Regions from separate parts of the Homo sapiens genome. Here all the other regions are linked to region 2. The links are contacts of gene promoters, found by promoter capture Hi-C in human tissues and cell types (Jung and others, 2019). All regions are on one chromosome and are shown on one strand. The core of a region is centred on a gene start or on the middle of the fragment in contact, and the rest is flanking DNA. Distances in the headings are between cores, read along the strand shown.

Region 1 (4,714 bases), core at 1,453-3,952, 38 kb after region 2:
CTCAGATGGGGCGGATGCTGGGTGGAGGGTCTCCTCACTTCTCAGACGGGGCGGCTGGGCAGAGACGCTCCTCACCTCCCAGACGGGGTCGCCGCCGGGCAGAGGCACTCCTCACATCCCAGACGGGGCGGCGGGGCAGAGGCGCTCCCCACATCTCAGACGATGGGCGGCCGGGCAGAGACGCTCCTCACTTCCCAGATGGGATGGCTGCCGGGAAGAGGCGCTCCTCACTTCCTAGATGGGATGGCGGCCGGGCAGAGACGCTCCTCACTTTCCAGACTGGGCAGCCAGGCAGAGGGGCTCCTCACGTCCCAGACGATGGGCGGCCAGGCAGAGACGCTCCTCACTTCCCAGACGGGGTGGTGGCCGGGCAGAGGCTGCAATCTCGGCACTTTGGGAGGCCAAGGCAGGCGGCTGGGAGATGGAGGTTGTAGCGAGCTGAGATCACGCCACTGTACTCCAGCCTGGGCACCATTGAGCACTGAGTGAACCAGACTCCGTCTGCAATCCCGGCACCTCGGGAGGCCAAGGCTGGCGGATCACTCGCGGTTAGGAGCTGGAGACCAGCCCGGCCAACACAGTGAAACCCCGTCTCCACCAAAAAAGTACGAAAACCAGTCAGGCGTGGTGGCGCGCGCCTGCAATCGCAGGCACTCGGCAGGCTGAGGCAGGAGAATCAGGCAGGGAGGTTGCAGTGAGCCGAGATGGCAGCAGTACAGTCCAGCTTCGGCTCGGCATCAGAGGGAGACCGTGGAAAGAGAGGGAGAGGGAGACCGAGAGGGAGAGGGGAGAGGGGAGAGGGGAGAGGGGAGAGGGGAGAGGGGGAGGGAGAGGGAGAGGGAGAGGGAGAGGGAGAGGGAGAGGCAGAGCAAAAAAGGACCATATCTTATTTTTCTTTTTTCTTCCACTGATCCTAGGACAATTGCATATAGTAGTTATGAATTTATTTGTGGCTTTAGTGAATCTGGCATCATATTCTTTTGGTCCTTATTTATTTATTCATTTATTTTTGCACTTAAATGATGTGTCTACATGATAATGCATCAATTTGCATTGTGGGTTTTGTCCCCAAATCTTTGACTTCTTGAAATGTCCTTATAGTATTGTTTTGCTCTAAGAAAACATCAGGGCTCTGAATCAATAATTGGGACAAAGCAGTCTATTCAGTGGTTTGTAAACTGGATTAAAAAAAAAACCCAAAAGAATTCCTGCCACCTATTTGATGATCTGTAAGGAAAACCAGACAGTTAAAATGTTGCACAGAAAGAGACTAGCAGGTTGGTTTGCTGTTCCTGTCTTGTTTCAGTTTCATTAACTGAATCCTTGACTATTCTATCAATTTGACACTAGACAGGGTAGAGTGCTCCATACAATTTGTTACCCTTGGCTATCATCACTATAGTGTAAAGTTTTGGAAATAAGCAGGTGACTCTAAATCTTCAAAAGGGGACTGGCCTTGTTTATGTGGGCAAGGTATGGGAATTGTAGTGAACTGTCAGCCAACTTATGAATATCAGAAGGATGTCTATCCATACCAAAGGAATCAAAATTAAGTATAGAAAAAGTGAAGCAAAAATTATGGATAAGTTAAGGAATTGCCTCTTAAATTTGTTTGTTTCTTTGAGTTCAGTGAAGGTGGAACTATTAAAATGTGATTTACTCATACAAATTTTTAAAAAGAGGACTGTACCTCCTCAGGTAGACCAAGTGTTTGGAAGGACCAGCATGTGTTAAGAGGATCTAGCGGGGAAATAGGATTTGCCACAGAAATTACCTTACTCTGTTAACTTTGGACAATGTTCCATTGACTACCACTTGTCTTTGTCTTATAAGAATAGAATTTATGGAAGGAGAAAGAAACTTACAAGGAACGGGTAAAAGAATGAAACTGCTATTAATATGACTCAATGTTTTTTTCTTTCTTTTTTTTTTTTTTTGAAAAAAACTTCTAGATATTCCCCTTTTTTCAGATTATTCCAGATTCCATTTTTCTTTCTATGGATTTAAGATGGTAAATTTCTATTTAAAGTCTCATTGTTTGCTCTGATAGCTTTCTATATCTCTGATATATAATGGTCTCAGCAGGCTGAGTTTTACAAAGAGAATTCTACACTTCCTGACGAACATGCATTAGCTATTCCATAAGCACCCGGTGCTGTGCCAGAGGCTGTAAATGACACAGAGGAATGCTCTCAATCCAGTGTTGTTCCTTGCTGTGGAAAACAAACAGGCAAATGACTCCTCTTCTCTGGGCGCTATCTGTTACTCTAATATCTTATCTTAACACATTCTTAGTCCAACACTTACCCAGGAAGCTTGGGATATGGCTACTTATGAAGAAAGGATTACTCTTTTTTTTTTTTTTTCCCCTAGCTTTGGGCTCTTTATGAGGTTGGAAAACAAGTTTATTCCTATGTCTAATAAAATTTTACTACCGATTTCAAAACGCTTAAATTTTTTTTGCATTGCTTTCAATTGCTGCAATTTTTCCTAAGCCCAATAATTTTTTAATGCTATGTTAGTCACCAAGTAAACTACTCTTTTTCTCCAACTGAAGTATATAAGCACTATGGATTCTATGCCAGCCCAATAATGAACTCAATTAATGTTAATTGAGAGCAGCTTTGGGGGAAAAAAATCAGATTTTTACATTCATTCTTGAGTTTAGTGGAATAAACTTTTTTTTTTGGTGAAAGGGAACATAGAGTAGTGGTCAAGTAGCACGAATGCTGGAATCAGAGCTGTCAGATTCAAATCCTTGCTTTGCACATATTTGCTGTTGGATCTTGGGCAAGTTACCGAATTGCTCTGTGCTTCAATTTATTTATTTGTAAAATATTCATAATAACAGTATCTATTTCATAGGGTTATTATGAGGATTAAATGAGCTAATGTTGGCAGAGCACTTAGAATGGTGTGTGCCATTTAAGTGCTATATGAGTACTTCTTTTCATCTTTGCACCATCTATTCTGATTGATGGGACAGACAGGGGCTAGTGCTGGAGAGATAGGGTGTTCATTTGGTTCCGATGGTTCCTTTGTGATGATTGCCTGGTTCTTAACAAAAGGTTTTTATTTCAATGTGGATTGTATTTTCCTCCTTTCCTCCTTGGTTTTTACTAGAGGGATTTTTTTTTTTTTTTAATCAGGCAGCCCCCAAACCAGAGAGGCTCCTGGAGAATGTTTTAAAGTTACATAAATGATTATTTGCAAGATTACTTCTTGGCTAAAACTGGATTGGTTGAATGTGGCAGTTTTGAGACTATTTTCTGAACAAAGTTTTAAAGCTGGTTCTATGTAGATTTTTTTTTTCTCCCTGTGGGTGGCTCCAATGTATGAAATCATCCCCTTAGCTTTTTTTTTTTTTAAATCTTCAAATAAATAACAAAATGTAGATAATATCTAGATAAAACTTTTGGAGGGCTTGTGAGTAAAGGCTACTTATTTAAAACAAAACACTCAAAATAAATTGCATATAGACTAATTGAAGTAAGGGGCACCTGCAATTGTTATTAGACCTAATCTAGACCTTTTCACTAGTGGTTTATTTTTGGTTTATTTTTAAACAACACATATTCCCTTTATGAGAGAATGAGCTTCTGAGGCCAGTGAAGCATTTTGGCTGATGGCTGAGAGGTCACCCAGCAATGATAAAGTATCAGTTTGTTTTTTCTGGAGAGATATTTCCAAACAATAGTCGTTTGGGAGTTATAAACAGGCATCGAAGTTACTACTGAAAAGGTGAATTTGACAAATGAATTATAGATCTGTTGATAAATTGAGTAAATTGGATTTGATATATTAGATAATGGAGTGAGGAGATCAAGTGTGAAAATCACTACCTATAAAAATTAGTTAATTGCAACATTTCCCCATCAGTTTCATTTTTCATATGTGTGATTTTAAATAATTGACTTTGAAGTGTTTTATAAAATGACTTTTGAGTCTCTATTTTGTGTTCTTTTCATGATGTGTTTAACTTGGTATTTTAGTTTGGCAAAAACAAACAAATCCCCCCACCCCACTCCTCAAAAATGGGACTTGTAATAAAAGTTGCTTAAGAAATAGCATTAATTATATATATTTTCAAAACAGGCAATATATATTGTTCTGATAATTTCCTCCTAAATACTCAGTCTCTAAATTTATATTTTTCTTTTCTCCATAGCAATATGAAACTGTCTGTAAGAGGACTGTTCTTTATGATTGTTATAATTTTTCAACCAGAAGATACTACCTTTACAACCTCAGATACTAAGGGAGACAAATGTACTGAACTTACAAATGTATTATGTTGGATTACTAACAATAGACCTAATTGATAAAAGTGATTTAATATATGTTGTGTTAATAGCTAAACCTCCAAAGCCCCTAATCTCCCATGGAAATATTGCTTTGTAGAACAAAATCCAATGAGAAGTTCTGGGATTCCAGAGTGAATTTGTACATTCCTTAGGGGCATTTTTGCAAGGGAGGTTGTTGTGTTTTAAAGGTAGTTGATAAGAGACCTGCACCACCAACCCCAGACCTGCACCACCAACCACCATCATGCATTAGTCTATAGAAGGTATTTGGGTGTACGTACTCCTGTACCACTCGGTACCACCATTTAGCCAAGCGAAGTTTCTGACCATTTGCAGCATACATTATAAATCAGGATGTCACTACCAGACAATCAGATTTGAACATTCCATGAACAAAGTAGCCTATATAC
Region 2 (4,547 bases), core at 302-2,801:
AAAGTAACACCTATCCTTTCCCTCCCCTAGCCCCCACACCTAAAGCTGCGCCTACCACTGCAGCCCACGGAAGCTACGCGATCCGGACTGTTGGGGTCAGCAGAGCCCCGGACGACCTGTGCCCCGGGGAAAGGGGCTGGCAGTAATTGGCAGGTTCTCGCCCCTGGGGAAGGGAGGCAGCGGGAACCTGTCCAGCGACCACGTGCGTTCAGGGCTGTCTCCTCCATGCGTCACGGCCCCTTCGCTGGAGGGAAAGGGCTCCTGACTTCTTGGACCAGGATCCGGAGCCTGGGACTAGCTGCCGCGCTGGTTCAGGGGCTGGAGCTGGAGATGATGGGATGGCCTCAGGCCCGCAAACAGCCCCTTCTCACACAGGGTTCCCACCACCGGGAAATAACTTGCATCAACCCTCCTTTTTTACCCCTCCCTGTGGGCTCTGATGTCACGTACAGGCTGAGGACGTGCGCTGAGGGCGGGTGTAAGGCCACTTGTGCTTTTGGCTTCCGGGCCCCTTGCCAGCCTGTCCAAAGCGGCCCCAAAGAAGGGAGGCTAGGGGTTCCCTGAACCTCTCGTGTTTCTCCTTCTTATAAAAGGGTACCGGAACCATGGAGAAGACGTTCGCTCTTTTTCAATTTTGCTTCAAAATGAGCAGACTTGTAAGAAGCACGATCTGGCCATGACACCTGTAGATGTGGTGCTGAATAATTGCTAAATAAGGATCCAACCTCCCCAACAAAGATCCACCTCCCTCTCTAATTTGTAAAAACACAAAGCACCCCATCTCAGCAGCCTGTATCCTATCAGGGGAAACCAAGATATCCGAAGGAGCCTAGAGAGATCAGGCCAGGAATGAAGGTCACAGATCTCCATCCAGCAGGCTCTTTACTCCTTCCCTTCCCTACCCCCGCCTCTTTCCCTTTCTTTCTCTTTCCTTCATTTTTACTTGTCTGGTTGTGCTTTCCTTTTCCATTTCTTATTTTTTCTTTCTCTTCTCTATTCTTGACTTTCCTCCTCGTCCATTTCTTTCCATTGCTCATTTAGTAAAACTGCGTCCGTGCAGATTTCCCCGTGAGCCGCCTCGCCGGCTTCTGTGCGGGGCAAACCCTGCGGAGAGGCGAGGGCAGCGCGTGTGCACGTGTGAGTGTGCCTGTGAGAGTGTGCGCACAGGAGTGTGCTCTTGTATGCACGCGTAAAGGGGACTGTGTATGTCGGCGTTGAAGTGTGACTGTGGAATGTGCGCGCGTGTGTGACTGGCGTGTATGAGTGAATCTGTGTCAGTTGGTGTGACACTTAGGAGTGCATGCGCCTGTATGAGTGCGTGTGTGAGTGTGCACACGCCTGTGTGAGTGTCCCTGTGTGAGCACGCGTGTGTTCGAGTGCCCACTCCTCCCCGCGCTGCAAAGTGCAGGGGGCGGGCCGGGCGGCAGGGGGCCTGCCCGCTGGATTCCCGCATGCTTGTTCCGGGGCGGTCGGGTCTAAAGGGCTTTATGCACTGTCTGGAGGGTGGGGACTGGCGCGGGTAGAAAACGGGATGCCTCGGGCGTGGGGGCAGGCTTTTGGCCACTAGGAGCTGGCGGAGGTGCAGACCTAAAGGAGCGTTCGCTAGCAGAGGCGCTGCCGGTGCGGTGTGCTACGCGCGCCCACCTCCCGGGGAAGGAACGGCGAGGCCGGGGACCGTCGCGGAGATGGATCGCGGGCCGGCAGCAGTGGCGTGCACGCTGCTCCTGGCTCTCGTCGCCTGCCTAGCGCCGGCCAGTGGCCAAGGTAAGAGCCCAGCCAGAGCCTCTCGTGGAGCCCCCACTTCCCCGGCTGTGGCAGGGTCGGGTCCGCGGGAGGCCGGAGGGGAGAGCGTCCGGGCAGGGGCTAGGGCCGGGCGGCGGCGCGGGAGCTGCTCCCGGTGGGGCGCTCAGGTTGCTTCGCGAAGCCGGAGCGGGAGCGCCCCTCTTCGCTCGCCAGGAACTGAGCGGCAGCAAACTTGAGAAAGCAGCCCCGCCAGTTTCGGTGACAGCGCACCCCACGGAGACCCTGTCTTTGTTCCCACGGGCGTTGGTCCGATGCTCCTGGAAAGCACTTTGCGGGAGAACGAGGTTCTCCGCCGTTTGCAGCCTGCCCTCCCTAGCGGAGTTCTCTGCTGGGCGGCGCGGTCCCGGGCTCTGCTCAGAGCGCAGCTTTCCACCTGCAGCGCCCCTCCCGGGATCCCTTCGCGCGCCCAGGGCCGCGGGCCAGAGCACTCCTCCCACCACCGGCGAAACTTGGTCCCGCGGTGACCCCCAGAGACCGCTCTCACCATACAGATCATTTACGAGCCAAGATAAGGCCGGGAGGTGGGATTGGCCGAGAGAGTGGCTGAGGGACTGGAGTCTTTTCTTGAAGTTTTCCTTTCCAGCTGGGAGCTGGGGGCTTTTGTGTTGATGAATGGGGCCCGTCTGCATGGCCAGAGTTTTGGGGATCGAATGCAGAAAGTTTCTAGTATGAAGTGCTTTAAACTTCTCTCAAGTTGTCCGATAGTTTATGTTTTAACAGAAACAGAGAAGAGGGAAAGAGAGGGAGAAAGAAGCGGAGAGAATAAAACTAGTAAGAAGGGAAGAGGAGAGAGCGTAAGAGAAGCAAATAGGAATAAGGAAAGAAGGAGGGAAGAGAACGACTGGGGCGGGAGAAGAGAGAGAGAGAGGAGAGAGAGGAGAGAGACAGAGAGAGAGAGAGAGAGGGAGAGAGAGAGAGAGAGAGAGAGAGACAGAGAGAGACAGAGAGAGACAGAGAGAGACAGAGAGACAGAGACCCGGCCGAGGATGAATGGGAAGGGCGAGGAGGAGGCTGGAACCGGCGAGCTCTCCCCCTGGCTTTGCGTTGCTAGGTAGCAGCCGGGAGCTGCGTGTGACCGACCACCAGACAGACAGAGGGGACGCTGCTGCCACCGCAGGGACTAATCTGTCTGTGGGGATGGGAGAGTCCCCCCTTTCCCCTCCTGCTCCTTCCCTCCCGTCGGACAACTTAATTGCCCTACAATGAAAATGAAACCCCTATTGTTGTAGGATTAGCCAAAGCAATAAATTGATTTTCCTGGATCACATATTGGGGTTGATGGGTGGGGAATGTGGAAGCCCCCATTTACGGAGGAGTGAGGGGAGGGCTTGTGGATGGGCCGTGGCATGTATTCAAATGGTTAATCTGCTTTCTTTCCTCAATTCTTAGCGTAAGCTCCTTAGAGGGAATCAAGTAAGTAATTATACAGCAACTCCTAGCAGCACCCATTTCAGACTTCCTGGGAAGAAGTTTGGAAACCCTAACAAACCCCACAGGTCTTGCAAAAGTCTTCAGAAAGGCAGGAGAGGCAAGGAGAGATCATTAATAACCTTCCTTTGAACACCCTTTCTCAGTGTTGGTAACGCAGAAAGAGGGTTTATTATTATTGTGCAGAGTTTGCACAATGCTTAGGGTTGTATCTCATGTCCTAAATATAGCTATAGGATTTACTATATGTTCCTGTCAGTGCCTGGCAAAAGGAAATCTTACCTTGATTCATCTATGTCCTTGTACAACCAAAACAGATATTCTTTTTCCTGGGTTGATGATTTAGTCACTAAATAACCAATACCTACTCTTCTTGATAGTTTTTTGCACCCATCCATCTTCCATTCTATGATAATAATATATAATAATAATGTGTATAGTAATAGTAACCTAGCATACACATATATGTGGCAGGCTTTGTTCTAAGCACTTTATACTTATTGACTCAATTAATCTTCATAATATCCCTTGGAAGTAAGTACTCTTATTATCACTGTTTTACAGATGAGAAAGTGGAGGCACAGAACAATTCAGTAATTTGTCTCAGTTCATACTGCTAGAAAATGGCAAACTCAAGGGATTCTGAATTCAGAGTCTATAATTGCTACAGTATACAGTGTCTGGTTTTCTCTCTCTCTCTCTCTCTTTTTTTTTTTTTTTTTTTTGAGAGAGACAGAATCTCGCTCTGTCACCCAGGCTGGAGTGCAGTGGTGCAATCTCGGCTCACTGCAACCTCTGCCTCCCAGGTTCAAGCGATCCTCACACCTCAGCCTCCCAAGTAGCTGGGACTACAAGCCCGGGGCACCATGCCCAGCTAATATTTTGTATTTTTAGTAGAGGCAGGGTTTTGCTATGTTGGCCAGGCCAGTCTTGAACTCCTGACCTCAAGTGATCTGCCCGCCTAGGCCTCCCAAAGTGCTAGGATTACAGGTGTGAGCCACTGCACCTGGCCCGATTTCTCTTTTTTCTTTTGTACAAAAAATGTCATGCTCCCTAACTTACTGTCCATGTTTGAGGTTCCCAAAGAAGCTGAGGGGCAATATGCAACTCGTACCACCTGCTGCTTCATAACTGTGGATCTTTTTCCAGAATCTCTCCTCAGGTTTCTAAGACCAGAACCCAAGTCTCCCCATTCCCAGTCTTCCTACTTGATCATTTTAAGACGCATTTCCTCTGAATGTCCTCTGCCTGATACGTTGAGATTTCTAGAATCCTGTTGTAATGATCCTGACTTAATATATGAAGTAAAATCCAAT
Region 3 (4,572 bases), core at 359-2,858, 37 kb before region 2:
AATGTGAATGTTGGCCTGCCTTGCTAGATTGGGGAAGTTCTCCTGGATAATATCCTGCAGAGTGTTTTCCAACTTGGTTCCATTCTCCCCGTCACTTTCAGGTACACCAATCAGATGTAGATTTGGTCTTTTCACATAGTCCCATATTTCTTGGAGGCTTTGTTCGTTTCTTTTTATTGCTTTTTCTCTAAACTTCTCTTCTTGCTTCATTTCTTTCATTTCATCTTCCATCACTGATACCCTTTCTTCCAGTTGATCGAATCAGCTACTGAGGCTTGTGCATTTGTCACGTAGTTCTCGTGCCATGGTTTTCAGCTCCATCAGGTCCTTTAAGGACTTCTCTGCATTGGTTATTCTAGTTAGCCATTTGTCTAATTTTTTTCAAGGTTTTTAACTTGTTTGCCATTGGTTCGAACTTCCTCCTTTAGCTTGGAATAGTTTGATCATCTGAAGCCTCCTTCTCTCAACTTGTCAAAGTCATTCTCTGTCCAGGTTTGTTCCGTTGCTGGTGAGGAGCTGCGTTCCTTTGGAGGAGGAGAGACACTCTGATTTTTAGAATTTTCAGCTTTTCTGCTCTGTTTTTTCCCCATCTTTGTGGTTTTATCTACCTTTGGTCTTTGATGATGGTGACGTACTGATGGGTTTTTGGTGTGGATGTCATTTCTGTTTGTTAGTTTTCCTTCTAACAGACAGAACCCTCGGCTGCAGGTCTTTTGGAGTTTGCTGGAGGTCCACTCCAGACCCTGTTTGCCTGGGTATCAGCAGCGGAGGCTGCAGAACAGCAGATATTGGTGAACAGCAAATGTTGCTGCCTGATCATTCCTCTGGAAGTTTTGTCTCAGAGGAGTACCCGGCCGTGTGAGGTGTCAGTCTGCCCCTACTTGGGGGTGCCTCCCAGTTAGGCTACTTGGGGGTCGGGGACCTACTTGAGGAGGCAGTCTGTCCGTTCTCAGATCTCAAGCTGCGTGCTGGGAGAACCACTACTCTTTTCAAAGCTGTCAGACAGGGACATTTAAGTCTGCAGAGGTTTCCGCTGCCTTTTGTTTGGCTATGCCCAGCCCCCAGAGGTGGAGTCTATAGAGGTAGACAGGCCTCCTTGAGCTGTGGTGGGCTCCACCCAGTTCGAGCTTCCCAGCCGCTTTGTTTACCTACTCAAGCCTTGGCAATTCTGAGCGCCCCTCCCGCAGCCTCGCTGCTGACTTGCAGTTTGATCTCAGACTGCTGTGCTAGCAATGAGCGAGGCTCCATGGGTGTAGGACCCTCTGAGCCAGGCGTGGGATATAAACTCCCGGTGTGCCGTTTACTAAGACCATCAGAAAAGCGCAGTATTAGGGTGGGAGGGACCCGATTTTCCAGGTGCCGTCTGTCACCCCTTTCCTTGGCTAGGAAAGGGAATTCCCTGACCCCTTGTGCTTCCTGGGTGAGGCGATGCCTCGCCCTGCTTCGGCTTATGCTCAGTGCACTGCACCCACTGTCCTGTACCCACTGTCCGACAATCCCCAGTGAGATGAACCCAGTACCTCAGTTGGAAATGCAGAAATCGTACGTCTTCTGCGTTGCTCACACTGGGAGCTGTTCCTGTTTGGCCATCTTCTTGATCTTTTGAATTATTTATAAGTTTAGATTATCTGGGGTCACTGTTCTTCTCCATCAAACTAGGTACTATAAGGTTGATTCAAGAAGAGATATATTCTTCATGTGGGTTTGACTTTCACAAACTTGCTTTTTCTGGTAGTAACTACCAGAAAATAGCTACCACGTGTACGTATATCTGTGTGTGTGTGTGTGTGTGTGTGTGTGTGTGTGTGTGTATTTCATAACATACATGCAAGTACCAAGATAAGCATTTTAAATTTGCATCTCATTTAATCCTCACGATAGGGAGGAAATTGAAATTTAGTAAAATTCAGAGACTTGCTCAAGATTGCCCAGCTAGAATTTGGACTTTGATGTGTCTAATTCTTAAATTCACGACTTTTCTCTTTGGTAATCTGTGTTAAACATGTTAGTTTTATTTGCTAAAATATTGACTTCATCATGGCTGGGTGCAGTAGCTCACACCTGTAATCCCAGTACTTTGGGAGGCCGAGGCGGGCGGATCACCTGAGGTCAAGAGTTCGAGACCAGACTGGCCAACATGGTGGAACCCCGTCTCTACTAAAAATACAAAAATTAGCTGGGCATGGTGGTGCATGCCTGTAATCCCAGCTACTTGGAAGGCTGAGGCAGGAGAATCGCTTGAACCTGGGAGGCACAGGTTGCAGTGAGCTGAGATCATGCCACTGTACTCCAGCCTGGGCGACAGTGAGACTTTGTCTCAAAAGAAAAAAAAAAATGAATACATTAAGTCCTCAATGTCATCAATAGGTTCTTGGAAATGGCAACTTTAAGCAAAATAAGATATAACAAAACCGATTTTATTTTTCTCATTGACATTATAACTAAGCCAGCCATGGTGGTTCATGCCAATAATCTTAGTTTCTCAGGAGGCTGAGTCAAGAGGCTTGCTTGAGGCCAGGAGTTCAAGATCAGCCTGGGCAACTTAGTGAGACTCCCATCTCAAAAAAAAAAAAAAAAAAAAAAGACATTATTCAAAGACCTGTTGTACCTCATTTTGCTTAAAGTTGCATTTCCACAGGACTTAGTGTACATTGTTTTGTCAACCGAATGAAAATTGCTTCTTAATGTTAGGAAAAAATGCAAGCAGAGAGGATACAGAAATAAACCTGTTAATTATGTATGAAACAAGACCTACTAATTTAACCTGGCTGTCTAAGATACAGTTCGCTTTCAGTAAACATCACAGATTTAAATCATTTTTTCCTCTAAAACATAAAGGGAAATTTTAGAAATGTCAAATTATATAGCAAGAATGTCAGTGAAAAAAAGGATTGTATCTGGCCACTGGGTGTCAATCTTGATCCACAGTCACAGGGAAAGAACACTCTTTTATGACTCCAGCTTTTCTTTCTCATTCTCTCCGGAGAGAGTTAGGAGAGTGATTTTATTTATAGCTAATAGGACACATTTTCTCTCTTAAAATCTTTGTGATTTCTAGTCCACTACCATGAAGATTATAATCTTCAGAGAATCTGAGGAGGAAAAAAAGACTAAAAATAGCAGCCAAAGAAACATCTTTAACAAAAATGCACTACATTTGCAGTTCTAAAATTATTCTGGGCTGGGTGTGGTGGTTCATGCCTATAATCCCAGCACTTTGGGAGACTGAGGGAGGAGGATCACTTGAGCCCAGGAGTTCAAGACCAGCCCGGGCAACATAGTGAGACCCTCTCTCTAGAAAAAAAAAAAAAATTAGCCGGGCATGGTGGCACGCGGGCCTGTTGATCCCAGCTACTCAGGAGGTTGAGGTGGGAGGATCGCTTGAGTCCAGGAGATTGAGGCTGCAGTGAACCGTGATCGCACCACTGCACTCCAGCCTGGGTGACAAGAGTGAGACCTTATCTCAAAAAAAAAAAAAAAAAAAATCATTCTGGGATAAGCTTGGCCAGCTGTGTAAGACATTATTTTGTGACTTGATTTCTGTACAGTTCTGACTATGTAAAATTTCAAAGTTCCATATGTCAAATATTTGTCTGGAAAATCTAGCTCTTTTAGTGAAATGGTATGTTTTATTATATGATTACCATTTTAAACTAGGAAAAAGGTGAAACTTCAGAAGGTTATATAATATAGGGGGATTTCTCAGCCTCACAGTTCCCTTACCATTACCTCCCTCTAGTGCATCCTTCCAGAATCTAGATATACTCTATACATACATAAGCATTTATGTCTACATAGCTCCTCTGTTTTTAAATACACAAATGGCATAGTCAACATGCCATTCTGAAACTTTTTTTTTTTTACATTTAATAAAGTATCTTGGACATTGCTTTGAATCAGTTAATGTAGATCTGCCTTATTCTGAATTGAGACCATACTTTAAAAAAAGACATTAAATAGTGCTCTGATGTTCTCATCTTTTAGGATTTTACAAGTGGCACCAAAGGCAAGAATTTGGTCAGACATGCCAATCCAGATTAGAGGAAATGGAACGCAGAGGAGCTGGACATCCTCACCTCTCATGGTCTGCAAGTCTTTGATTCCCCTTCTCCTCCTCCTCCTTCCAAACCCCTCCAACACTCTTGAACATATCTCTGACTTCTGTTTATCTTACACTTGCTGACAAATCTCCTTGGAAGCTGGTGGTCCATTTAGCCATGCCACAGCCATATCATGGCCCCCAAGACACACCACAGCATTGTAAGGGCCCCGAAGAAAACATATCATAAAATTAGATAAAGCTGGATATTTGTAAGTAAAATTTTAAAAATCCCTTGTTTGGTTAAAACAATGCAGATTTGATTTCATTTACTTCTAAGCTCTTTAACTGAATTGAGCATATTTGTATTTTCCCAAATTCAGTAGATTAGACTTGAATCTCTCATCCCATAAACAGGGATGCCCCAAATGAGTCTCAATGATTACTGTATGTTGCTGTGGCCGCAAATTCACCTTCCATTATGTTGGACTGACATTCAAACTGTTCTGGACAAAATGCCAGTACTCTTTCTA

Evidence for each region. Contacts are between HindIII fragments. The study calls those that stand out against the background at their distance.
Region 1: a contact is called between a fragment that was not itself captured here and the fragment with the promoter of LRP2 in region 2, in 1 of the 25 tissues and cell types used here (neural progenitor cells).
Region 3: a fragment that was not itself captured here is called in contact with the fragment with the promoter of LRP2 in region 2 in 1 of the 25 tissues and cell types used here (adrenal gland).

What each region holds. Positions count from the first base shown.
Region 1 is chr2:169,322,283-169,326,996 of GRCh38, reverse strand. All of the region lies in intron 1 of LRP2 (LDL receptor related protein 2), which reads left to right. Among named protein-coding and RNA genes, the nearest start is that of LRP2, 38 kb to the left of the region's middle. The HindIII fragment of the contact is 4,731 bases long and covers 337-4,714 here.
Region 2 is chr2:169,359,538-169,364,084 of GRCh38, reverse strand. It overlaps LRP2 (LDL receptor related protein 2), which reads left to right and starts at 1,551. Exons shown (of 79, transcript NM_004525.3): 1 at 1,551-1,764. The coding sequence starts at 1,686. RefSeq lists enhancers at 433-1,066, 1,067-1,700. The HindIII fragment of the contact is 10,463 bases long and covers 1-4,547 here.
Region 3 is chr2:169,396,227-169,400,798 of GRCh38, reverse strand. No RefSeq gene overlaps it. Among named protein-coding and RNA genes, the nearest start is that of LRP2, 36 kb to the right of the region's middle. The HindIII fragment of the contact is 5,640 bases long and covers 1-4,428 here.